2 separate regions of the Homo sapiens genome follow, and region 2 is linked to region 1. Evidence: promoter capture Hi-C in human tissues and cell types (Jung and others, 2019). All regions are on one chromosome and are shown on one strand. The core of a region is centred on a gene start or on the middle of the fragment in contact, and the rest is flanking DNA. Distances in the headings are between cores, read along the strand shown. Region 1 holds the start of GJB5 (gap junction protein beta 5). Region 2 overlaps LOC105378642 (a long non-coding RNA gene).

The links. The method cuts DNA at HindIII sites, captures the fragments that hold promoters and counts their contacts. A contact is called where the count stands out against the background at its distance.
Region 2: a fragment that was not itself captured here is called in contact with the fragment with the promoter of GJB5 in region 1 in 1 of the 25 tissues and cell types used here (spleen).

What each region holds. Positions count from the first base shown.
Region 1 is chr1:34,752,137-34,759,085 of GRCh38, reverse strand. GJB5 (gap junction protein beta 5) reads right to left here and starts at 4,039. Exons shown (of 2, transcript NM_005268.4): 1 at 3,891-4,039; 2 at 574-1,779. The coding sequence starts at 1,755. The coding sequence ends at 934. The HindIII fragment of the contact is 2,696 bases long and covers 2,475-5,170 here.
Region 2 is chr1:34,710,805-34,717,753 of GRCh38, reverse strand. LOC105378642 (a long non-coding RNA gene) reads left to right here. Exons shown (of 4, transcript XR_947174.3): 4 at 6,184-6,949. Among named protein-coding and RNA genes, the nearest start is that of GJB5, 41 kb to the left of the region's middle. The HindIII fragment of the contact is 8,651 bases long and covers 1-6,949 here.

The DNA.
Region 1 (6,949 bases), core at 2,790-5,289:
AGGCTGGAGTGTGACCTCACATATGCTGGTGGGGGGCCTGGGACCTGTGTTCTGGCTGGGATGATGAAGGTTAATGTGCAGCTAGGGAGGGGCCTTCTGCCTCGTTTCTCACAGGCATTATCAAGCACTTCCTAATACCAATGATTAACATTTATGTGTCCTTTTACAGCTGGCTAGCCCTGTCCACAGCCATGAGCTCATCAGTCCTCAGCACAACCCCACAGGCTAGGTATTATTAACCCATTTTGGAGAGAAGCTTAAGTTACTTTCCCAGAGTCCCGGTGGAACTTGGATTCGACACAGGCATTCTAAGTTCATGAACTTCCCACTGCAACATGGACTAAGCTCCATTCTCTCTGCAGACAACCCACAGGACTAAACTTGCCATGGGGGATAAAGGCTAGATGGGAGCATGAGCAAGTAGCACGTCCCCTGGAGTACTGGGGGCCCCCTTTCTGGAAGAGAGGATGCCCCTCACAGGCTGGATCAAGTGCAGCTCTTCACGGGGGCAGAGAGATTGACACCATGAACGTGTGAGGGTCACGAAGGCCGCACAACCAGAGGGCACCTGGAACCAGCAAATGAGTTGACTTTTATTAAGTTCTGACAGTGGGCCACACACGATGAAGGTGCCCGCATGTGTGTTCTTCTATGAACGCCCTCCTCCCTCCAACCCTGGGCATTGGCCCTCACTATTTCCATTCTAGAAAAGGAAACCGAGCTGCAGAGCAGAGGGGGAACTGGCCCAGTGCCGTCGAGCTGGGGCAGGTGGCTGGAGTTGAGGACTAGGAACTGGCTCCCAGAGCGTCTGAATCCTCTCTCTTGCCTGCCCCTACCTCATGGCTTAGCTCCCCCACTCTCAGGTTGCACCTATGAGAGATGCTAGAGCCTCCCCATCCAGGCCCAACCTGCCAGACCAGTCCAGGCAGCCCCTCACAAGATGGTTTTCTTCACATGGTCTCGGGGGCGGTCTGGTAAGAGAGGAGGATGACTGTCTGAGCCCAGAAAGATGAGGTCACCCGAAAGGAGGTCGTCTTGTTTGCAGGAAGAGGTGGTACCGTGGGGGTGATGACCTGTGCACATGGCTTGAGCTTTCCTTGCTGCCAGGCACTCGTGGCATCTCTTGCTCACCAGGTAGATGAGCTCCACGAGGTTGAGCAGGATGCAGATGGCAGCTGTGGCCACCATGAAGAGGGTGAAAATGTTCTTCTCTGAGGGCTTGGAGATGAAGCAGTCCACTATATTGGGACATGGATCTGCGTGGCACTTGACCACAGGAGGGAGGATATATTTGGGGTAGAATGAGTGGAACACATAGAGAAAGGCGATGTCCACGCTCGCCTTGAACACTAGGCTGCAGACATATGTCCACCAGAGCCCACCCCGCTTCTTGCCGGGGTTCAGGTAGAGGCGCCCACTGTTCTCCCCATGGGCTTCTCGGTGCCTCTTCTCCTGAACCTCCCGGTAGGCCACGTGCATGACCACGAGCAGTGAGGGGCATGTCACCAGGATAAGCTGCAGGGCCCAGAGGCGCACATGGGACACAGGGAAGAACTCATCAAAGCAGACGTTGGAGCAGCCGGGCTGGCGAGTATTGCAGTCGAAGTCCTTGTGGTCATCACTCCACACACGCTCGGCCGTCACCAGGTACACCAGCACGCGGAAGATGAAGACCAGAGACAGCCAGATGCGCCCAAAGGCTGTGGAGTACTTGTTGACCCCACTCAGGAGTCCCTCAAAGATACTCCAGTTCATGGTGGACCCACGCGTCAGCTGCTACTGCAGGGAAACAAGAACAATCATTTCCTACATTTATCACAGACTTGCTCTGAGCACTTTGTAGAAATATGTCATCACATTTCATCCTTACCATCACTAGAGGAGCTGGGTTCTACTACTGTCCCCATTTTGTAGAGGGAGGGAGCTGAGGTTTAGTGGCATTATATACAAGGTTACACAACTATTAGGTGCAGGGCTGGGATTTGAGCATAGGTAATTAAGTCCAGAACCCAGCTCTTACCAATACCAGTGGATAAGGGCAGGTCCAGGGAGCCACTCATTCCTCCCCGGGCCTGAGGCTCTGGTCTTGAGGTTCTGCAGAGTGAAGACTGGTGGAGCTGGGACATTCTGCCTGCTCCCTCTGTTTCAACCCTGGCCCTCCTCCTCAGGGGGGCTGAGCCTTGAGATGGTTCTCTCCTTTCTGAGCACTGCTGCCTCTTCTCAGACAGCCCCTTCCCCAGGGGAACCTGCTCTTTGTCCTTTTCTTGGCTCAGGGATGGGACTGGAAAGGAGGCTGGAACCTTGTCCCCAAGCCCCCATCTGGTCTAACACTCTGTAATTAGCCAGGCAGAGTCCTGCTCAAGTGCCACTCAATGCAATCCAGCTGAAAGCTAAAGCAGGCAGCAATAAATTCTCTTCATACAGTAGGTTTCCTAGAGTAACCTGGTATTCCAGTGTTTCCCAAACAGTGTTCCCTGGAACCCTGTCCCATAGGTTGGCAATAGGAGAAGTGAGAGAAGAGGATTCTGTGTCAAGAAAAGTTGGCAAACATTGGGTTTAGTAAAGTTAAATAGGGTTCTTTTGCTCAACCGTGCTAATAAACTCACTAATAAATTCACCAAAAGAGGTATGAAATATGTGGCATTGCCCAAACTCATTTGCCCACAGAAGCCCTTTTCCTCCTGACATAACATTTATCATCTTGTGGAACAGCCTTGTCAAGACATCAAGTGGGAAATGCTGCTCCTGTCAGTTCTGCTGGTGAATTTGGCCTGATGAACTCACAGAATCAGATTCACCTCCGCGTAAGGACTGTGACTGCTAGGCAGAGTAAGGGGTCCCCACTTCCTCACCCGCGAGTCCTCTGCCTGATTCCTGGAGATGGGGGTGTGTCCATTAAGACCCATGCACTGTGGTTTCAACCAACTGTGCACCCTGGGACCCCAAGGAACCTGTCTGCCTAGCCACTAAAGGGCTCATGATGGCCTTCCCATGCTGGTCCAGGCTGAAGCTCACCAGGCTCTCTGGAGCCTCTGCATGATCAACTGCAAAGCAGAGTAGTGATAACAGCCAATATCCATGAAGCATTCATGCCGTGCCAGGCACCGCTCTAAGTTCTTTGTATGAATCAGTACATTATTCCTTCACAGCAACCTTAGGAAAGGGCATATTTTTTATTCCCAATTTACAGATGAGGAAAGAGGAACACAGAGGGATTAATTAACTTGCTCAACGTCACACAGCTAATAAGTGGCAGAGCTAGGATTTGAACCCAGGCAGGCTGGCTCTAGAGCCCACCCTCCGGGAACTGCCCAGCCTTAGGCCTCAGACCCTTTCCTCAAGTTTCAATGAGCTGCCTGCCTGTTTGTGTGCAGACGGATTCTGTCCTTCCCCTTGTGTGTGGATCCTGGATGAGGGTGGCTGGGGGAACCTTTGCCCACCACCCTGTCTCCACACCACCTGCGCCACTTGGACGGGGGATGGGTGGAGGTGGGGGCCGGGGTTGGGGGGAGCTCTGTTTTGAATCACCATCTTGCATGCTCAGTCCTGTCTAAGGTAGGACTCCTGCAGCTTCTCAGGGAACACCCAGGAAGGCCCCGCCCTTAGCCCCAGGGGCTCTCACCCAGCCCATCCCTACTTGGGGAGGAGTGGGGCAGGGCTTTGCAGGCCCAGGCAGAGCTACCCTGCCTGCTGAGCTTCCGGCCTGGCCCCTGCTCCTACCTTTGCCCGGCTGGGGAGACCTGAAAGAACCCAGAGCCCCTTATTCCTCCACCATCAGGACCCAGGGTGGCAGATGTGTCCAGGCCACATCCCACCACTCCCCAGCAGAGAAGTGTCCTCCTGCCACGTATGCCAAGGGGCAGGGCACATGCGGACACAGATGCCCTTACCTGAGTGACTACTCCTCAGGGCTCTCCTGGCTCCCAGCAGCCGGCAATAGGACTCAGCAAGCAGCTTGAATTTCATATCCAGAAGCGGGGAAGGTTTTCGGGGAAGCCCGTTGAAGCCTGTTTCCAGGACAGAGCCTGCCGGGTGTGCTGGCCCAGCCTGGGAGGAGGAGGAGCTGGGACCTGCACTGCCATTGGCTGGGCCCCAGCCTCCCCAGACTGCTTCTGATGAGGCTCAGGAAACTGAGGGGTTCACTCCTCCCAGGGCGCTGAGCCTCGAATCCTGGTATCCTCTCAGGGGAGAGCCACAGGTCCACTCTGACTCCTTGTTCATCCTCCCATCTGTGGGCTTGTGTGGGAGAAGCTGAGGCCTGAATCCCAGCTCTGCCACTTTCTCACTGTGTGATTTCTTGCCTTCTCTGTGAAAGTGGGAAAAGAACAACACCTACCTCATAGGGTGGATACGTGGATTAACCCAGCCTTAGGGGTGAAGTGCTTAGAACAGTGCCTGACACAAGGGAAGCCCTGTCTACAATTGCCTATAATGCGTGTATACTGCCCAGCACAGGCCTGCCGCATGGTATGTCCTCAAAAAAATGTTTCTTCCTCCTCCTTTTCCTTATTCCTAGGCCTTTTCTTTCTGAGATACAGGGAAGGCAGAGGAGAAGGGAGGGAGAGAGAGACGTATGCACTAGAGAAAATCTCATTTGGATGCATGTTGTCTTTGGGTTAAAAAGGCCAAACCCAAGCCAGGCAGGAACCACAGGAGAGGTGGAGAAGGTGGGCAGGGGCACCTGGGGAAAGCTTCTCATTAGTGCACAGACACGGTCTTTTGGCCTAATTGACTTCCAAGGTGCCCTGTATCAGCAGGTCACTTGGGGTCAGGATTCAACAGACAAAGCATCCAGGAGCCACAAACACCTCATGTCCACAAGCAAACACAATGTAGCTTCACATGAGCATACTCTTACACACAGGCCACAATTATGGGCACAGTGTTGCACACACATGCAGCAGTGGCTTTATTTTATTCACTGCTCTATCCCTTGTGCCTAGTATGGTGCCTGGTGTCTTGTCCAGTTAGGCTTCAATTTATATTTATTGAATGAATGATGTGTGAAATGCACACACCCTGCAGAGAGTCACACATTTCTATACTCCATGCTCTTTCCAAAAAGCTGTTGCCAAGTACAGGAGAGAGGAGGCATATAAAGAGATCAGTTACAACATTGTGAGAAGTCCTAGAAAAGACACAGAGAGAGAAGGGAGTTTTAAGTTCTGCCAGAGGGAGAGCCGGAGAAGGTAACATTTAAGCTGGGTCTTGAAGGATGTATAGGAGTTTACCAAGAAGAGATGCTGAGGAGGGGCCTTTGAGGCAGTGGGCACATAGCGTGCAGAGGACCTTTGTGAAAAATAATGGAAGAGCATTGGAGAGTGGGCTGGGTAGTGGTGGGGACACCACATGGCAAGGAGCCTGGAAGGTCAGCAAAGACCTTCCAGACCATGAAGGACCTGGAATGTCATGCTAAGGAGTTTGAATTTATCTTGGGTGCAGAGGGAGGCATGAGGGAATTCTTTTCTTTTTTCTATTTTTACATTTTGTATTGTGCTGAGGCAGGAAAAAGGAAGAGACATGGTCAGATTGGTACATTTGATTCTCATTATTCAAGGTAGTTATAGTCTATGAGTCACCATGAGCACCAAGTTAGTGAATATTGAAGCATTCTTCCTAGAGGACATATGAGGTTAGGTTCCTGCAAGCTTCTGTTTACAATGTGGTTATCAACTGATCAATACAGAAGTCTGTTTTATGTGTGTTTCTGAAGACACCTTGTTTAATATATATTGTTGACTCATTAATATTGGACTCATAGCCAACACCACTATAACTCATGACTGAATGAAGCTTGTCTAACACACATATTTTTTCCATAAGGCTCATCGTAGCCTTCGTGTGCTTAGAAACACTAGATGGCACTTCAGCACTGTACTCGGGGCCATTTCAAACAGCAAATCCCCAGCAAAAAGCAAGAAATGAGAAAAACATGGCACCAAGTAGACCTCCAATAGAACATGTTTATAGCATTAGAGCTGAAAGGGGAAGGCAGAATGTCACCTTGTTCAGCCACAGCTGGGAACACGTGCATTGGGAGACTCAAATTTTTGCCACTCTGTGCATGTTATAAATGGCCATGAAAGTGTCTTAAGTGTAGATTTTGGCTTAGGAATAAATTGTGGTGAGCTGGAGAATGCACAATACGGAATCTGTGAATAATGAAGATCAACTGTATGTTTAGAAAGCTTCCTCTGTTTGAGAAAAGAGGCTGGAGGGGCTTGTGAGACCGGTATGAAAGTTACTGCAATGATTTAGGCAAGAAATGAGCAAGAGGGTTGGATTTGGGAAATAGCTGGTAAATACAGCTGGCAGCTTTGGGGGACTGACTTGGGGGACTGACTGGATGTAGGATGTGAGGCAGGAGGCTGACCTAGGATGGTTCATAGGTCACTGGTTTTGGTGATTTGATAGGTGATTGGGCCACTGATAGAAATAACCCTATGAGGTAGGAACTCCAATGGCTCCATGTTCCAGATGGGAAAACTGAGGCCCAGAGAGGCTAAGAAACTTGCCTGGGCTTGCACAATCAGTAATCAGGAGAGCTGGGGGTGGAATTCAGGTAGCTGAGCTCCAGAGCCAGTGCTTTTAACACCGTAATGCTTCAACATCTTCATACCCAAGGATTTGGCAACACTGTCGGCTCCTTTATGCTTGATAAACAGAATCATTTACTCATCGTCAAATATTCATTAAGCACCTACTATGTGCCACGTGTTGCGCCTGATAGTGGAAATAAATCAGTAAGCATGGTTCTCATGGTTCAACCTCTGGGCCTGGTCCTCTTGAAGATTACAGTCAAAGGAGGAAATAAGACATTAAACACACACACACACACACACACACACACACACACACACACACCAATAACTCTAAAAATGCAATTGTGATAGAGTCACAAAGGAGAAGCACAGTGCCAAGAAAATGTATAATGGAGAACCAGACCTAG
Region 2 (6,949 bases), core at 2,682-5,181, 41 kb after region 1:
ATAAAGAAAATGTGGCACATATACAACTTGGAATACTATGCAGCCATAAAAAAGAATGAGTTCATGTCCTTTGCAGGGACATGGATGAAGCTGGAAACCATCATTCTCAGCAAACTAACACAGGAACAGAAAACCAAACACTGCGTGTTCTCACTCATAAGTGGGAGGTGAACAATGAGAACAAATGGACACAGGGAGGGGAACATCACATACTGGGGCCTGTCGGGGGGTGGGGAGAAGGGAAGGGAGAGCATTAGGACAAATACGTAATGCATGTGGGACTTAAAACCTAGATGATGGGTTGATGACGGGTACAGCAAACCACCATGGCACATGTATACGTATGTAACAAACCTGCACGTTCAGCACATGTATCCCAGAACTTAAAGTAAAATTAAAAAAATAAAGAAGCCTGGTAGTGTAGGAAAGAGAGGTAGGCCACTAGCTTGATGGGACAGTGAGCGCATATTTATACTAATGACTAAATTTCCTTGAGTGATGAAGGGGCAGGCAGCGTGCTAAGCCTTGCCAGGCATCAGCATCTCATTTCACAGTGACCCTTCGTCTGAGTTAGTGGCTGTTATTTCCACTTCACAGATGTAGAGGCTGAAATACAGAGATGGAATGACTGGCTCAAGGTGAATACAGCTGGTAGGTGATGGAGCCTGAACTTGAATCCAGATCTAATTCCATCCTGGGAAGGCCACCTTTAGCCTGGAGGCACCTGGAGCCTGTTTGTTGCTGGAGGTCAAGGGAGAGGTTTTATGTGCAGATCCTCGAGGATGCAGAGGGCGTGGGAACTCAGCTGTAGGCTTGGGCTTGGATGAAAGGAGGGGCCCTTCCTCTCTCTGAGATGGAGGTGAGGATGTGGGGAGTTGTGGAGAGGAGGGAAACTGGGGCCCTCCTGTAGCACCTCCATCTTTCCAGGAGCCAAAGCAGGGTCATGGCAGGGCACAGGGGCAGTAGGGACTGATGAAAGCTTGAACAGCAGGAATTTGTTCTCTGCCAGAGGGCAGGAGAGTTGGCCTATCTCTAGTATTGTACTGAGGCCATGGGACCTTGTGATAGAAGCCTGATTCCAGGCTCTGATAGTGCTAAGCCAAGCAGAGCTGATTATTAAATATCCAAGGACTCCTCTTCTGATAGAGACATAGGTGAGTTCTCTCCCATCCCCTGCCTCCTATCCCCAGGACAGCCTCCTAACAGGATTCTGCTGTGGCTGCAAATGAATTTGCTGTGATCCCAAACTCTTTGATTCCAGCAGCCATCCCTGGAGAGGATCCCTGGAGAGGAGCAAACCCAGGCCATCCGGATTTTCTGCATGGGAGACCTGGCTGACCGCTGCCTGGGCTGCTTTCAAGTCTCACCGAATTATGAAGTCAACTACTGGGTGTTTAGAATGTCTCAAGTTCAAAGACTAGCAGGCTAGAAGCAGACATCTGAGAGAACTTCGGGCACCTTAGCAGGAGGAATATTAAGATGTGGCATGCTGGGCTTATCGGGAGACTGGATAGGGATCAGAAGGAATACATTTCTATTCTGCGAGCTGCAGAGCTCAGGAGTCGTTCTGATATCAGGCCCATTGGTGGGTTTAGCTTTGGTGCAAGTTTCTTGGCCATGGAGCTTAACTAGGAGGAAGTGAATTGCAATCATTTTGGCCTGTGCTCCTTAGAGTCCCAGGGATCAATGGGAGACGAGTGACTGGGTGGGCGGGTAGAGCAAGGAGAACAGGGTGCAGGAGACACTGCCACTTATTTATTTGTTTTTCCTACAAATATTTATTGAGCCTCTAAGTATGTACCAGGCACATTCCAGAAGAGGGACTCAGAGGTCGTTGGAAGTGTATGCCAGGAACCACTGAGCAAGGCCCTTGTCTCTCTTTGTGGGCCTTCTTCAGACACTTCCCCCTCATACACGGGATCTGGGATCATTAAACATCTCATTGTCCTTTGGATTCACCAGCTTTTGAAAGTGCTGCTCCTGCTGGAAAAGCCCTCGCTTCCACTCTTCACCTAGAAAACTTCTATTCATTCATTAAGGCCTGACGTCACGTTTTCTGGGAAGTCTTCCTTGCTTATCCCCTGACAAATTTGATTTTTTGTCAAATTTGTATTATTTATATCTTTGTGTTATTAAATTTCCATCACATTTCAGAGTTTCTGAGTGTTTAAATAACTTAACCTAAGTTCACACAGCTAGTTAGAGTCTCAGCTAGGATTTGAACTTGGAACTTCCTGACACCAAAGCCAATACACTTAACCACTAGATCGCATGGCCACTGAAGTTAGTGGTTCCTTCTCTAGGCTCCCAGGGCCCCAGAGTTTTGTCATGGAACTCATCATTGTTGATTGTCATTATTCATTTGCTGGTGAGATTTCCAGGGGTACGGGCTATATGGAGTCACTATGATGACTCAACATAGAATCGACAGCCCAGATGCTGGTGGGATGATAAGAAAGGCTATTAATGTGCCCAGTACTGGGCTAACCTCTCCATATTCATTGTATCATTGATTACTCATGACAATCCATGAGACAGTCATTACTATTCTTCCCATGTCATATTTGGAACAACTGAGGCTTAGAGAGCTGAAACAATATGTCCAACTCCCACAGCTAGAAGAGGCAGACCTGGGGTTCAAACTCAGGTCTGGCTTATTCCAGAGCCCATGCTTTTAACTGCTATATCACACTCCTTCTCCTCGACGTGTTCTCTGAAACCCTGTAGTGGTGCTGGGGTACAGAGACAAGTGTCACCAAGCTCCTACCTTCAAGGAGCTCACAGTCAAGTGGAGAAGTCAGGCATCCCGGCATCCCAGGCATCCCTGATTATCCTGGTATGAACAGATAATCACAACACAAGCTATAAATGCAGGTAGCCTGGAGAAAGGAGTAAATAATTAGTCAAACAGAGGGAGTGCTAGGGAAAGATTTCAAAGCAGTGGGGATACCTGAACAGGGTTTTGAAAGTTAAATAAGAGTCTTCCAGGAGACAAGGAGGTAGAAGGACACCAGACATACAGAGCAGCATACACGAAGGGAGGGAGGGAAGGAGAGAGAGAGAGAGAGCTGCTGGGTGGTAGGGAAACTCCAAGTGATTAGAAATTTCACCCTTCCTGTCTCTCCTTCCGCAGCTGACTCTGCTAGGAAATGTGGAAAGCTGCAGCTGCAGACAGCTGGCTGTGCCTGCTTCACTGGAGTTCTCAGCTCTCTTACACCTGTCTGTTTAGAAAGGAGCAGACAGGCTGTGAAGCTCTGCAGGATTCTTTTCAGTGCTGGGGCAGAAGGAGAAATGGTGGGGACAGCCACTCTGGGCATCAGAACCGAATACCTGCTCCCCACTCCTCTCAGTTGCACAGCCCAGCTCCTGGCTTCACTGCAGTGGGAAGGGAGATGAAGGACTCTTGAACTCAGAATATGACTGACCAAGACCCTTACAGCTGGGGTGGAGGTAGGGGGCTGAAGGCAGGTTCTGGAGGTGGAGATTGAGTCTTCCAGTTGTTTTCCTGGCAACAGCGGGAACAATAGATTCTAGGTTCTGGCTGGCTCAGGAGTTGGGGTGTCTGACCTGTCTTTCCTCAGTCCCTTCTGCTATAGATACTGATAGTCCTCTGCCACCAGGCTCTGCCTACCAAGTCCCTGAGCTCTTCCTGACCTAGCCTGGCTCTGAGAGGGGAGCCAGCATGGCAGAGGGTGGGCCTGGTACCAGTTGTGTCTCCCTGAATACAGGATCTGAGAGCTGGGGAGCTATGGACACCCAGAGCCCATCAGCCTGGTCTCTCCCCTCACTGTAGGTTCCCAGGCCAGTGGCTGGTTCCTGATTTTACCTAGTCTTCTGCACTGGGATAAGAACCTGACATCCAGCTTCCCCTTTGGGAGTAAGGCCTCTTCCACGGGCTGCTCCTGGTCTGTGTTTTCCACTGCAGTCTGGGAGCCTACTTCCCCCATGAAGGCCCTAACCCCACCCATGAAGACACTACATGAATTACTGTCCAGACTGGACTCCAGATGCAGCCTCGGATTAGACCCAATTTGGCCTCATCTCCTTGGAGCTGTCTAGTAATTTGGAATACACGCTGCTCCCTACTTAGCCACCTGCAAAGCAGGGTCCATCTCCCAGCCTGGTTCTGCCTTTTCCTCAGTCTTATATGTGTGTGTCTGAGTACATGTGTCAGTCAGTGATCATGCCAGGACGGCCAGCTGGACTTGTGTCAGCATGCACATATGTTCCTTGAGGCTGTCCCGTGCAGGCGTGCACTGAGTTCTCAGCCCAGTTCTGAAGCGTGTTTGTGAATATGCCCAGATACATCATGAACATTGCTGGGATGCTAGGAGGGGGATCAGTATGAATGACATTGCATGTCCTCAAGTACACAGGTATGTGTCTACGCACACGCACAAACCTCTCTAATATGTATGTATGCACGTGTACATGTGTATAATATGGCTAAGTGTGTGTCTGGGAGTATTTGACCATGTCTGATGTGAATCTTCTGCCCATTCTGAAAGGAAAGGGGACATGGGCCCACTCTCCCTTTTTGTAGTTACACTGTGGTCAGGGCTGGCTTGTGACAGAGGGAGTCAAGGTGAGTGCCCCTCTGAACTTCTGGGATCTTTCTGCCTAACATTCTGAGACTTCCCCAGCTGTTCCCTAGTCCTGCAGCCTTGGCTGTCAGTACTTCAAGATTATCTGGCCAGGCGTGGTGGCTCATGCCTGTAATCCCAGCATTTTGGGAGGCCGAGGCGGGCAGATCATTTGAAGTCAGGAGTTTGAGACCAGGCCAACATGGTGAGACCCCATCTCTACTAAAAATAAAAAAATTAGCCAGGTGTACTGGCACGTGCCTGTAATCCCAGCTACTTGGGAGGCTGAGGCAGGAGAATCACTTGAATCCAGGAGACAGAGGCTGAAGTGAGTCGAGATTGCACCACTGCACTCCAGCCTGGGTGACAGAGTGACACTTGGTCTCAAAAACAAACGAACAAACAACAAACAAACAAAAAAAAAAAAAAAAAAAGAAAAGAAAAAGATTATCTGGTGCCTTGGCCCAGTCCCCACCCTTCACTTTGGAAAGGGTGTACCTGCAAAAGGTACAAGAGGAAGTCCACACCCCCACATTTAGTCTGGCAATGATGCCAACTATTCAGGACTCGCCTACTGTGGCCTGTGTAGGTCCTCCTCCTCTCCTGCTCATGTCCAGGCCATTGTCTTTAGTGGGACAGGGGGGCCTGAGGGAGGAGCTTCTGACCTGGCTGTTCTGGAGGCCTGGGCTTGCCAGAGGCCTTCAGCTTTGGCAGAGGACTCCGGGCTGTTTGGAGGCACTCCCAAGGCCCCTGTGCTGTGTCAGGGGCAGGAGGTGATGGTGGGGGGTGGGTAGTACGTCCAGAGCTTCCCCTTCCCAACAAATCTGTGGATGGGCAGGGGGTACACTCATGGGGAAATTACCAATTTAAATAGGAAATGCAAGCAATTTGGATAGAACCCCAGGACTGCAGTTTGAGAGCTCATTCTCTGCCCCGTGGGGGTTTGATTACAACCAACTTGGCTGATAACGTGCAGAGAGGGCCAGAAAAATGGTTTCCAAGGAAACTCAGATCTTTCTAAGCCCCTTCTGGCTCAGGTGGGAGCCAGGGCTGGCCGGGAAAGCAGAGGCTGTGCTGAGTACCATGGTGCTCAATTCCCGGTGAGCCCTCTGCCCACTCTCTGCCTGCTTCTGTGCTTATCCCTGCTTCCCCAAACCTGGCCTGCACTTTCATTCCTGTTTACAACAGTTGTTTCTCTCTTTGTCTCTGCTCCCTTTGTCTTCTTATTTATCTCAGCTGATGTCTGCACTTGGGAAAGTTGGCAAACATTAAAAAAAAAAATTCTAATTTTTTTCTTATTAATGGCGACTATTCATTCAACACCTACTCTGTTCCAGAAATGCCACAGGATTTAGTTCTATTATTTCCATTTTCACAGCAACCATATGGTAGACAGGATACTATGTGTTCATCAAATCTTTTTTCTTCCTGGAACTACATTTCCCAGCATGCCTTGCTGTAAGGTTGAATCATGTGACTGAGTGCTGGTCAATGGAATGTGGGTAGGAGTAATATATGCCACTTTTGTGGCTGCCCGGCCCCCCCTAAATATCACGAACAATCTTCTACACATACTCATTTACTCTTTTTTTTTTTGTAGGCCGTGGAAACAGAAATCTAGTGGAGGATTCTGATCCCTAGGGAATGTAGGGCCACTGGACCCAATTGCCCTATAATCTTGTGTGGTATTTCCCTGCCCCTGCTCAACTTCATTGGATGGTAATGTTACATTTGTTAAGCCACTAAGGTTTTGGGGGTTGTTTATTAGGCAGTTGTCTAGCCTGATAACACAAGCCTGAAAGAAGGGCATTCTTATCCCTATTTTTCCCTGGGGGAAATGGGCTCAGAGATACTAAGTAACTTGCTAAAGTCACACAGCAAGTAAGTGGCAAATCCAGATTTGAGCTCAGGTTATGTCTTTTCCACTAACCCAGGCTAACAGGATGATTGTTCCTGCTTAGGTATTGCCTTGGTCTTTGTTTCTTGAGGAGTCACAGAAAGAAAGACACAGACCAGGACTGGGAGGTAGGGAAGGAGGGAGCAGCTGGGGGGCAGGTGTGTAGTGGTGCATCATAGCAGCAAAGGGAGGTAAAGGTTCTAGGAAGGGGTGGTCAATTGTGTCTAATGAGATCCAGCCAGGTGGAGGAGGAAGAGGGCTGGGAAGAGCCCATTAAATTTAATGACCTCAGTGACAGTTTTATCTGAGTGATGGGGCAGATGCCAGCTTGCAGAAGGTTTGGGAACAAGTCAGTGATTATGTTGGTTAAGGGAAGGAGAGAGGAAAAAAAGAGAGATAGCTTTAAGTGGAAGCCAGGCCAAAGGAAAGCATTTTGAGAAGGAAATCAGTGGTTAGGGAGAGGTTAAAA